Linked DNA regions of Homo sapiens: region 2 is linked to region 1. The links are contacts of gene promoters, found by promoter capture Hi-C in human tissues and cell types (Jung and others, 2019). All regions are on one chromosome and are shown on one strand. Each heading gives the region's core, a stretch centred on a gene start or on the middle of the fragment in contact. The rest is flanking DNA. Distances are from core to core; before and after follow the strand shown. Region 1 holds the start of TCERG1 (transcription elongation regulator 1). Region 2 has its middle 45 kb from the start of PPP2R2B-IT1.

Region 1 (6,284 bases), core at 3,584-6,083:
TGACCTTGTCAGTAAAGCACGGGCTAGCAAAATGCCGTTTTTCAGTCCATTCTGGCTGCTGTAACAAAATACCATAGACTGGGTGGTTCATAAACAATAGAGATTTATTTCTCACATTCTAGAGACTGGAGAGTCCAAGGTCAAGGTGCCAGCAGATTTGGTGTCAGGTGAGAACTAGCTTCCTCAGACGACCTTCTCACTCTAACCTCATGTGGCAGAAGAGGGCGAGAGGTTGCTCCTGGGCCTCTTTTACAAGCGCTCTAGTAACATTCATAGGGTTCTGCCCCCATGACCTAGTCACCTCCCAAAGGCCTCGCATCCTAATACAATCACCTTGTGGGTAAGAATTTCAACATAGGAATCCAGACCATAGCAGCCCTAGAGAAACTCTGTAAACAAATATTACTTATTGATGATTTTTAGTTGCTGCCTATGCCATGGTAAATAGTTCATTTATGAAATCTCAGGGCAACTCTTTGTTTTCCAAATAAAAAGGTCGAAGCTGTGAGAAGTGACTTGCTCAAGATTGTACAGCCAGTAGTTGATAGAGCCAGGACTAGAATCCTGACCTAATTTACCCCGAAGCTCATTAGCAACCTCTATCCATACTGCCTGTGAGGGAGCTAGCAGATGCATCCAGCCTGGGATTCTCTATTTCTGAGATCTCTTTAAATATTTCAAAGACCAGTATTTCCAGTTAGGAATAACATAGCTGCACAGTTTATGGGTTAATAAGTGTGTTATTAGGAGCTGGGGGCTTCAGCCAGGAAAACAGTCTTTTTAAAGCATTTACAGTCTAGAGGGAAGAGGAAGAAATGATACATTGTGATTTGGGTGAGACACAGGATTGAGTGGTCTCTAACTGGCTTTGGTGTTAGACACACACGTGTTTGAATTCTGGCTTCCCCTCTTTTCAGCTATCTGAATGTCGCCTTGCATCAGTCCTATCATCTGTCTGAGCCTCAGTTTCCTCATTTGTAAATTGGGGACAATACATCCACCTTGCAGGGCTGTTGAAAGGACTGGAAATAGTGTATGTAATGTACCTCCTATGGATTTAAGATAGGTGCTCAAAAATGGCAGTTATTTTTTTAAAGCCTGATTCTGCATTGGAACCAGTTCTCAAGAGCCAATTCTGATGAGTGTCTTCACAGCAGGACCTAAGCCCTGATGAATTAATTTGTCTGAAACCAACATTTTCTCTTCATTTCATCTTGATATGCTAATTTTGGGGGGTCAATAATTCAATGGTTACCAATTAAGCAAGGATGGTATTTGCTATTCTGTTCTATATAGTTGTGTACATTATCAGTATCCAAATAGTTATCAAGCTTTGACTATCGGAAAGTCCATTTGGTCTCTTAAAAGATGCACTGAATCTCTTCAATTCCTTTTTCATTTTGATTCAATAAAATGGTTCACTCTAGAAAAGCTGTGTAGACATAGTTCAAGTCAGAAATTTGCAATATGTTATAAATAACTATTGAGCCAAACTACCTGAATTTGAAGGACATTTTTATGGGGATACACTATAGCAATGAAATAATGAAATATATACATATATACACATATGATTATCATTACATGTGATAGATATACATATGTATATACTTAATCTATTTAAAAGATTATACTATAATATAAATATCTTAAAGTATATTTAGATAAAAATAACATAATAAAAACTATCAGATAATAAAATTTTTAATACCTGCAAGGAGTTTCTTCAACTGACAGTTTGTTTTCATTTTTTATTTGAGATGAAGTCTCACTCTGTCACACAGGCTGGAGTGCAATGGCGAGATCTCAGCTCACTGCAACCTCTGCCTCCCAGGTTTAAGCGATTCTCCTGCCTCAGCTTCCCAAGTAGCTGGGACTATAGGCACGTGCCACCATGCCTAGCTAATTTTTGTATTTTTTCAGTAGAGACGGGGTTTTGCCATGTTGGCCACGCTGGTCTCGAAATCCTCAGGTGATCCACCTGCCTCGGCCTCCCAAAGTGCTGGAATTACAGGCGTGAGCCACAGCGCCCGGCCTGTTTTCATCTTTTATATATGCTAGTGACTTATTTTCTATAAGCTTTCTATTTTGAATCTTTTTTTAGTAGGAATTAGTTTGTAATGAGCCATCTATACCAGTATTATTTTCAGAATATTGACCAGAACTTGGGGATACACACTGATGTTGAAAAAGGGATCTAACTCCCAACTTTTAGTCAAACTATAGTTTGTTCAAATGCCACACCTTTTTTTTTTTCTTTTTTAAGACAGTGTCTCACTCTGTATCCCACGCTGGAGTGCGGTGCTGCAATTACAGCTCACAGTAGCCTCGACTCAAGTGGGCTCAAGCGGCCCTCCCACCTCTGCCTGTCAAGTAGCTGGGACCACAGTCATGCACCACAATGCCTGGCTAATATTTTTGATTTTTTGTAGTGGTGAGGTCTCACCATTTTGCTCAGGCTGGTTTCAAACTCCTAAACTCAAGCAGTCCTCCCGCCTTGGCCTCCCAAAGTGCTGGGATTACAGGCCTGTGGCACCACACCCAGCCTCAAATGTCACATCTTTAACAAAATTTTCACCATGCTCTCCTCCAATTACTCATGCTCAGAACTGTGTGAAGCCTTTATCACAATTTATCATATTTAATTGATTTTGAATATTTAACTGGAATTCAGTGTAGAATGGTGTTTTTGAATTAAAATATAATTCACATACAATAAAATTCACCTTTTAAAGTATACGAGTTGGCTGTATGCAGTGGCTCACACCTGTAATCCCAGCACTTTGGGAGGCCAAGGTGGGCAGATCACTTCAGCTCAGGAGTTCAAGACCAGCCTGGCCAACATGGCAAAACCCCGTCTTTACCAAAAATATAAAAAATTAGCTGGATGTGGTGGCGGAGGCCTGTGGGAGCTACTTGGGAGGCTGAAGTGTGAGGATCGCTTGAGCCTGGGAGGCGGAGGTTGCAGTGAGCTGATATCATGCCACTGCACTCCAGCCTGGGTGACAGAGTGACACTCCCTCTCAAAATAAGTAAATAAATAAATAAATAGTATAGAATTCAATGGGTTTTAGTATATTCACAAAGTTGTGCAACCATCAGCGCCAATTCCAGAACATTTTTATCATCCAAAAAGACATTCCATATCCATCAGCAGTCACTTCCAATTCCTCATTCCCCTCTACCTCCTGGAAACCACTGTTCTACTTTCTGTCTGTATGTATTTGCCTGAAATGCAATGCAATTTCATCATATTTCATGTAAATGGAATCATACAACAGGCGGCCTTTTTGTATGTGGCTTTTTATGTCTGAACAATATTTCATTGTACAGTTATACCATGTTTCTTTTTTTTTTGAGACGGAGTCTCGCTCTGTTGCCCAGGCTGGAGTGCAGTGGCGCGATCTCTGCTCACTGCAAGCTCTGCCTCCGGGGTTCACGCCATTCTCCTGCCACAGCCTCCCGAGTAGCTGGGACTACAGGCGCCCGCCACCACGCCGGGCTATTTGTTTTTAGTAGAGACAGGGTTTCACCGTGTGAGCCAGGATGGTCTTGATCTCCTGACCTCGTGATCCGCCCGTCTAGGCCTCCCAAAGTGCTGGGATTACAGGTTTGGGCCACCGCGCCCGGCCTATACCATGCTTCTTAACCATGCATCAGCTGATGGTCATTGGGTTGTTACAATACTTTTTGGCTATTATGAATATTGCTGCTGTGAACATTTGTGCACATGTTTTTATGTGGATCCAATTATTTAGGCTTACAGTATTTAAGAGTGCTGCTTTGCTACTACGCTGACTGGGGTTAAGACCAGGCTCTGCTATTTAGTAGATGTGTGACCTTGGGCAAGTTACTTAACTTCTCTGTGCCTCAAGCTCATCTACAAACAGTGACTATGTTACCCACCTCCTAGCAATTTTTGAATCTTAAAAGAGTTAACGTACCTGACATACTTAGATCCGGGTTTGCTACATGGTTAGGTCCAAGTAAAATTTATCTATTAGTATTATTTTAATATTTTTACGACTTTAATAAAAGGGCTCATCTTCATTGTGCCTTTGAAACCCCAAATCCAAAACTTTTTTTTTTGTTAATTAGAAAAACTAAATAAATATTCAGAATTGTCTGGTATTCTGGGTGTGCTAATTTCAGACAAGCACATTTTGAGATCGAGGGAGACGTGGTTAAGCTGTAAATTGCAAAGAGGCTTGCCTTCGCCAATTTACCTTTCTTAATGCAGCAACTTATAACACCTATTGGCTTGCAACGGTTTAGTATAATTTGGGAGGTATTCTTGTAATTAATAATATATTATTTAATAACATGGATATAGAGCTGAGTGGTGACTTAAGACTCCTGCTACTGTAAAGCTAGGAAATAGCGGCTTTCCACAGCAACTGTGCAATCGGTTTAGGCGCGGCCCAGGTCGATTTTGATTGGCTTGCCCAGTGGAAATGCTCTCCGCCTGAGCTACTACTGGCCAATATGGCTCCACAATTGGCTCTCCTGGAAGCCGACAGACACGTGGCTACCGCAGGCTGAGCCGAACTTGGGAGGACTTAGTTCTGCTTACCGCGAGAGGGCGCCGGCGGTTCCTCACTGCTAAAATCTCATTTCCCATAAAGCCCCCGAGTCACCAATCAACTGGCTGTCTTCATACCGCTTTCAAAGTCGGCGGGCGCCTTGCCCAATAGCAAAGAACATATCGCCCCCATTTCGAAGATTGATGGAAAGTTTGACCAACCGCATCTCAGACTTCTGCTGTCTCCGCCTCTCTCGTTGGGGATTGACGATTTTTCTAGCCAATAGGAGACGTCGGGTCGGCGGGTGGATGAACGCGGCCCTCTGTAATGGCGGAGCGTGGCGGGGACGGGGGCGAGAGTGAACGATTCAACCCGGGGGAGCTCAGGTAAGGAACGCTGCCCTCCTTCACATCTCTGCTCACGAGAGCCCCAGAGGCTAGACGCTAGACCTGCCATGTGGAGATCCGGGGCGGACGGTGGGTAGCGGAGCCGGGCGGCCCGGGCCGGGACCGCATGGGGTTTAAGAAGGGGGAAGGGGAAGGTGGCTTGAATGAGAGCCGGGCCCGGGCTGGGCCAGGGCCTCCTGCGCGTTCCCTGGCTGCTTCCTAGTGCTTTCTTGGGGCCTCGCCGCCTCTCGCGGCCTGCAGCCCTCTGGCCGGGCGCGGTGCTCCCGCCTTTGGGCCCCGCCTCAGCCGCGTGTCGCCTCCGTCTCGGCCGACCTGAGTCTGTCCCCAGGCCGCGCTCCGCTGCGGGCCTGATTTTCCTCATCGACGTCTCTGCACTCCGCAGTTACTTTCCCTGTACCCCTCGCCACTTCTGGCTAAGCCTTCTCCACGCCCTCCGCGGCTCTTTGGGCTCCCCACGTTTGCCCTTTCATTTCATCCCCCTCATTGCTTGCCTTTCTTAACTTCTGTGGCTTTTCTTCCTTTTTTCATCCCTTTATTCCTTATTATCCTGTAGTTGTGAGTAACAACAACAGTAGCAACCCCTTATTAGGCACTTACCGTGTGCCAGTAAACCCTTTACTTAGGTTTGTCTCATTTAATCCTCACAACCACCCTTTGGAGTAGTTGCTATTAACATTTTGCAGGCCACAGACCAGAGGGGTCTTCAGTTGTTACTCGCCCATCTTACAGGTGAGATAACAGCCTCGTGGAGGTTGAGTCAGTAGAATAAGATTGCATAGGCGGATTTGTGGCTCCAGGAAGTGGCTTGAACTCAGGCAGTCAGGTTTCAGAGCCTGCAATCCCAATTGGCGTTCTATTCGTCTACTACTCATGCCATTTCCTTGAACAGTGCAGTGACCTTTTTTTCCCCTGGAACCTCAGTGTCTATGAGTTTGTAATTAAAATTTGGTAAAATGAGAGTGACCTGGAGAAATCTTTTGGTCAGTGGTTTTTGAGGAAAAGAGGTATTATGCTTTATGTGTATTTGGTACTTTGGTTTTTTTCTGTATGGGAGAAATGGCATTTCAGATGTTCAGCTCCCATTCTGAATTGTGCTGTTGTCAACGTTTGAAAATGAAAAAGAGCAGGGTAGATTATGAAGACTCTGTTGATACTGTCTTGAACTTAAGATGAAATTGTGTAAGGAAATGGGTATTGTTATTCAAGGTTTTAGAAGAGGAAAATGCCTTTCAGATTCTGTATGGTCGCACACACAAATCTCCACTTTGGCAGAAATGAAATTTTGTTTTATTTCAGAGATGAATCTGAAATCCTTTAAACTCCATATGTATACAGTATTAATGAGTGATCAAGG
Region 2 (6,302 bases), core at 1,641-4,140, 520 kb after region 1:
GCTGATGAATTGTCTAGAAAGATTGTATTCATGTACTATTTCACCAAAAAAGTGTCTATTTTGCTCTATCTGTAACAACTTTAAATATTATTTTTGATTCTAACTTTTGCCTACCTGATAGGTAAAAATTAGCACCACATTGTTATTTTAATATTTTGTTCCTTTAATTACTAGGAAGCTTGAACACCTTTCCATATAACTATCAGGTGTGTATTCTTTTTCATAAATTGTACTTTCTTGTCCTTCCTCATATTTGTTTGGTGATGCCTTTTATATGTTAAGAGTATTAACCCATTGAAAACCCATTTTTATAGCCTGAAATTTGGTTCAGTCATCTACAGAGAGCATTCAGCCCAAAATCTGCCCAACATCAGTACTGGATATTTAAACTTAAGCAATCCATAGTCAGGAAGACACTGGTCCCCCATGGAGGAGATTTTTTTTCAAAGGAATGGATCATAAAGCAAAAGGGATTTTCTATGGTGTCCCTATTAGTCAAATAAAGTGGTCTGACTCACTTTAGCTTTGGCAATTCCTGGTCATTGCTTGTGTGTGTCCCTAGAGAACAGAATGAATTAAGGAGTCACCATCTAAGGTGTTTTCAACAGAAAACACTTTGGCAAAAGCTTATTTAGCTAGTCTGGGATTAATTTTCTTAACCAGTTAGAACTTCAAAAAGAAGGGAATGAGTTAATAAACTCTTCGCAACATCCCTGCCCCCATACTCCCATCTAGTATGGTCTTCTGAGTCTGCACATGGCTGGGGCTCTTCTTTCCACACGTGTACTCTGAGCCCTAGAAACACTTAGGCTGTGAAGCACAATACACTTGTTTTTTTCTTTGGGTCAGTTCAAATTGATCATGCCAACTCTTCCCATTCCCTCCTCTTTGCTTCCAATGTTTCCTTTCTCTTTTGTTTTTCAGAAGAAGGTAGAAGAATTTGGTAGACAGAGAGAGAGAGAGAAAGAGAATGTGTGTGCATTAAAACCAGACAAGGAAGCGGCTGGGTGTGGTGGCTCATGCCTGTAATCCTAGCACTTTGGGAGACCAAGGCGGGTGGATCACGAGGTCAGGAGTTCGAGACTAGCCTGACCAACATGGTGAAACCCCGTCTCTACTAAAAATACAAAAAGTAGCTGGGCGTGGTGGCACACACCTGTAATCCTAGCTACTCAGGAGGATGAGGCAGGAGAATAGCTTGAACCCAGGAGGCAGAGGTTGCAGTGAGCCAAGATCACGCCATTGCACTCCAGACTGGGCAAAAATAAAAATAATAAAAAAAAAACAACCTTAAAGCAAAAAGTCCTTGGAGCCAATACCAATTGATGACCCAATCAGAGATACCATTTCAGAATTACAAGTATAACCTTATTTGATTCTCATCACCCTCAAGTTCGCTGCGGAACTTGCCAAAGGCCCAAAGCTAGATAGTGGCAGAGCTGGGACTCTAACTCAGGTCTCAATGACTTCAAACTCATTTTTATGAGATTATGTGTCTCATAAGTCACCATGCCTGCTACCTCTTGTTTTACAGGTGAATGAACAAAGGCCCAGTGGACTGAGCAACTGGCTAAGGCACTCAGACTTTCTTAGTGGAGCTGAATAGAGAACACAGGCCCCTTTACTGTGCTGACTCATCTTTGAGATGATGATGCAATTCAACAAGAAAAGATTCAATGTGTACAAATTGGATTGGGGCAATTATTCAAGAACAAATTGTATAAAGTGAGCTACACCTCAAGCTCTTTGCTTTGCTTCCCATTTAGGGGCATTTCCTATGAGTCCTTATACAACTCTCTGTGGTGGTTATAACCTGGTATCAAATCAAATCAAAATCAGAATCAGTGCAGACAATCATTGCATGAGATTTGCTGTCTTCATGGAGGTTTTGTGTAGTGAAACATTGGGCTGACATCGCCTAGGGAATTTCATGTGAAAATTCCTCCCAAACATTTTTATTCTCAGAGTTCCTCTTCTTAGCACCACCACGGAGTAGGGATCTGGAGGGTGAAGTGAGGTTTTTTCTCTCTTTCCCCTTCTCCTGTCTTGCTCTCTGCCTCACCACTCACTGGCTCCTACCTGAACTTCCAGGTTAGTCCTCCACTCACACTTGGAATTTCTTATCCTTTTGCCCTGCAGAACACTTAATTGAACATATTGTGTTAGTTGAGCATTTCTTTGGGGTCCCAAGTTTTTCCCCAAGGGGTTTATCAGCAATTATTCTGAACATATACGGCACCTTCAATTTCCTGTCTTCATTTTTTTTCCCATAGATAATGTTATTATCCCAATTTTTACTAATGTTATTATCCCCATTTTAAGAAGTCTGAAGGTCAATTAGAGTAACTTGCCAAAAGTCACACTGCTAACACCTTGCACAGCCTAAATTCAAATCCATATTGGTCTGACTTCTAAAATTCTGGCTTTGTTTAATGACATTAACTCCCTAACTCATTGTATTAAACTCTTACTATCTGTGCTAATTTCTCAAATATTGTATAAAAGGAGTTGTCCTCTAAAAAGAACAATTGTAACAGCTTGACCTTTCAGGTCTCATTCAGAAGGTTCTTACAAAGACAGCTCTCTATTATGAATAATTTACCCTTCTCAAGGCTGAATTTCCTCTGATGATACTTGACCTTCTCCAGGCATGTAGGCCATCCAAATGTAGCCCTTAAGTCAGCTGGACACTGGGGTTCAAAGATAGTTTTGCCTTGTCCATTGCTCAGTGAAGCCATTCCTAAGTATGCTCCCCAAAACATTTATCCTATTATCCTCTTAAACATGAGATTCCACGGCTAAATACGTCAGAAAACTGAGAAAACAAAAATTAAGTTGGTGTTTCCCAGTTGCATTCCATTAAACACTGTTGTGTGAGCTGTTCATAGATCTGACAGTCAAAGAAAAAAATGAAAAAACAGTTTGAGGTTAAACAATTTTGGCAAAATATAAATACTCTAATTCCCTTTTGGGAGATTTATGATAAACATTAGCATATTAACGCTTCTGGCATGTCCTGCTAAATAGTTTGACTTGGTGCTTCGCAGATTTTTTAACCTTAGGATATTTTTTTTATCTTGCAGGACCAGCCCGCAACAGCCCACTCTAGAAAAGCTTCTGGTTTAAGTTCTCAGCTCCTGTATTTATTTTTATTTTTATTTTTATTTTTATACGGAGTCTTGCTCTGTCACCCAGACTGGAGTGCAGTGGCATGATCTTGGCTCACTGCAAGCTTTGCCTCCCAGGTTCATGCCATTTTCCTGCCTCAGCTTCCCGAGTAGCTGGGACTACAGGCTCCCGCCACCACGCCAGGCTAAGTTTTTGTATTTTTAGTAGAGACAGGGTTTCACCGTGTTAGCCAGGATGGTCTCGATTTCCTGACCTCGTGATCCACCTGCCTCCGCCTCCCAAAGTGCTGGGATTACAGGTGTGAGCCACCGCACCTGACCGGCATCTCCTATATTTTTAAGGGAGTTGACAAAGGGTCCTCTTTTGGGAATCTGGGCCTGGTCCTGCCATCTATTATTTGGGTGACTGTGAACAAGTCACTCCTCTCTGGGGCTCAGTTTTCCCATCTGTAAAATGAAGATAATATACCATTTGTCTCTAACTTTCCTTCCAATTCTAGCATACCATCACCTAAACATATGGAATTGATGGGGCTACACACCAGAACATCATGACAAACTGTGTGTTTATATTTTCTTAATCTCATCCTCTTAATTGAGGCCCAGAGAGGAATAACTTACTCACAGTCACTCAGTTAGTTTGATGGCAGAATCAGGCTTAGATTCCCAAAAGAAAATCATCCACCAACTCCCTTCAAAATATATAAGATGAAAATTTAAGCCATATGTTTGTTTCCTCCAGAAATAAAATAATAATATTTTTCAAGCTATAGAATTCTTATACATACACATAATTTGTCCCTATCTGCCAGTACATCATAGAAGGTATTCCCCAGAATCACACTATCATTTACTTGTTCAGAACGTTGAGGTTTTCTCTGATTAGCCAGTTTTCAGGATAATGGGAAAGTGCAGAGAGTGGTTCAGGTGAACTGCAGTGGGACCTCAGGCAAGCAACTTTCCCTCTCTGTGACTTGTTTTTTTAATCCGTGAAAAAGAAAATAATGACAGTGTGCCCTCCATTCCTCTAAGATACCTTGTCAGAACTGTCAGTCATAGTCAGAAAACTCTGCTGCTATATGCCTGCCCTGTCCTGAGGTATCAGCAGAAGTGTCGCTGGCCCCGCTTGCTTTGCGTCAGCTTCCAGGTGAGTGCTGCATAAATCCTCCATTTGGTAGTATGAATGCTAGTATTATAAGTACAAATATAATGCCCTAATATCAGAGATAATTTACTTTGCACTAATGCACTTATCTTGATAATAATTCTTCTTAAAATCCATAGCAGGAAAGCATGATGGTTAATAGCTAGGCTCTGACATCCGATACCAGGTTTGAACCCAGCACTGTTACTTACCAGCTGTGCATCCAGGCAAAGTGTTACTCGCTGATCCTCAGATCCTTCATCTATAAAGTGGGAATCGTACGACTCACTGCAAAGCTGGTACAGCAATGCAATGCAATAATGTTTGTAAAGCTCTTTGTACATTCCCCAGGCATACAATATGTGGTCGGTTATGGCAATTAAAAACATTATCTATTTCAGACATAAAATGCAAGGAGATTGAGAAGAAAATTGTCACCATACCAAAGCCAGGAATTGGAATCCTGTACACCCATTAGAAAGGAAAACCGTAGTTGGTGTTCTTAGCTAATGGTCCTTTGGCTGCCTGCGATATTAGTGTTGGCCAGAGGCTCGTTAATGTTGTCATTGTTTATTATTGAACACTGCCACCTAGTGGATGAATTGGTCACATGCAGGTAAGGAAATCACGGAGGTTATGTCAGGTCACCTGGTCACACATGGAAGAGGCTGTTGTGTCCATCTTGTCCACACTGATTTCAGCTTGTTGACTTGCAGCCATGCCCAGGGAGATACTGGGGTGTTCCTGCTTATGTAGACTCCCCTCTATCTTCGCGCAGTTGTCAAACTGACACAAAGACCTGAGAACTGTATTCTTACACTGCGGCTATGTGAGCAGAGCCAAAGATCGGCCTCCTCTGACATGACCTAAGGCCCCTCCCTCAACACTCTAATCCATCATACCATTTTATTTTATGCAAAAGCATATCGTTGTCTGAAAACATTACTTTCTTTCTGTTTCCCATCCCCTTCTCTTGCCCCTAACTAGAACGGAAGGCAGCCAAGTGTGGGGCCATGTGAGCCTTATTCCTTTACGTATCCCTCGTACCTAACACTGGGCCTGGCACAGCGTAGGAGCACAAAAATATGTGTAGCCTATAGCATAAAAAATCAATGACAATGCCAATAATCACTGCTGTTATTGTTTATGGTTCCTACTTTTTGCCGGGCACAGAGCTAAGGTCTGTACATAGATCACCTCATTTAATCTCTATAATCAGCCTGCTTAGTGGGGGTAATGTCACCACCCACATAGGATCAGTAATTTCTAGGGCTTAGAATTGATCTTTCAATTTCAACAAGCATGGTTCCCCTTTGCTCAGTATTATAATGCCATACCTTATTTAATCCTCTCTTTTGAAATCCTTCTTATAGTTTCACCTATTTTACAGATTTGAAAGCTGAGTCTCATAGAAGTGAAGCAATTTGCTGAAAGTCACTCAGTTCAGGTTTAAAACCCAGGTCTTGTCTAATTCCAAAGGCCCTGCTGTTTTCACTGCAACATACTGCCCTCTATTAGATACATGGATAAAAAAGGGCTTTCTTAATTCGGTCCTGGAAACCCAGGCCTGAGTTTTGGTTAAGCCTTTGTAAGAAGCCTTTCTCCCAAGCTAAATCTCATATTGGTTTTTCTTGTAGCCAGGTCTTTATTGGTTTCTAGATGTCTCCTCCACGTTCACTTCAAAGACAAAAATTAGCTACAATTTATTGAAGATTTTATTATGTGCCAGGCAGGGTTCAAATGATCTCATTTAATCCTTATAACAGCCCTGTAAAATAGGTTCCATTGATATTATTCCTATTTTATAAATGAGGACACTGAGGGACAGAGAAGTTAAGTAATTTCCCCATGGTTACCTGGATTCTAAACCAGAGCGCTGGTTTGAACCTAGGCAGGCAGTTTCCTTCCAGGATACACTCCTAAGCACCAGTGGCCATCCTAGGGGACTATATCCAGGACATTTCCTTTGCTGACATCAGGTAAGGGAAGGCCCTCAGAAAACCTCAGGGGCAGCCCCACTCAGTAAAGCA

Evidence for each region. The method cuts DNA at HindIII sites, captures the fragments that hold promoters and counts their contacts. A contact is called where the count stands out against the background at its distance.
Region 2: a fragment that was not itself captured here is called in contact with the fragment with the promoter of TCERG1 in region 1 in 1 of the 25 tissues and cell types used here (dorsolateral prefrontal cortex).

Annotation. Positions count from the first base shown.
Region 1 is chr5:146,442,500-146,448,783 of GRCh38, forward strand. It overlaps TCERG1 (transcription elongation regulator 1), which reads left to right and starts at 4,834. Exons shown (of 23, transcript NM_001382548.1): 1 at 4,834-4,909. The coding sequence starts at 4,851. RefSeq lists an enhancer at 4,497-5,204 and a silencer at 5,123-5,202. The HindIII fragment of the contact is 9,033 bases long and covers 1,706-6,284 here.
Region 2 is chr5:146,961,376-146,967,677 of GRCh38, forward strand. It overlaps a transcript of PPP2R2B not described here. Among named protein-coding and RNA genes, the nearest start is that of PPP2R2B-IT1, 45 kb to the left of the region's middle. The HindIII fragment of the contact is 4,977 bases long and covers 403-5,379 here.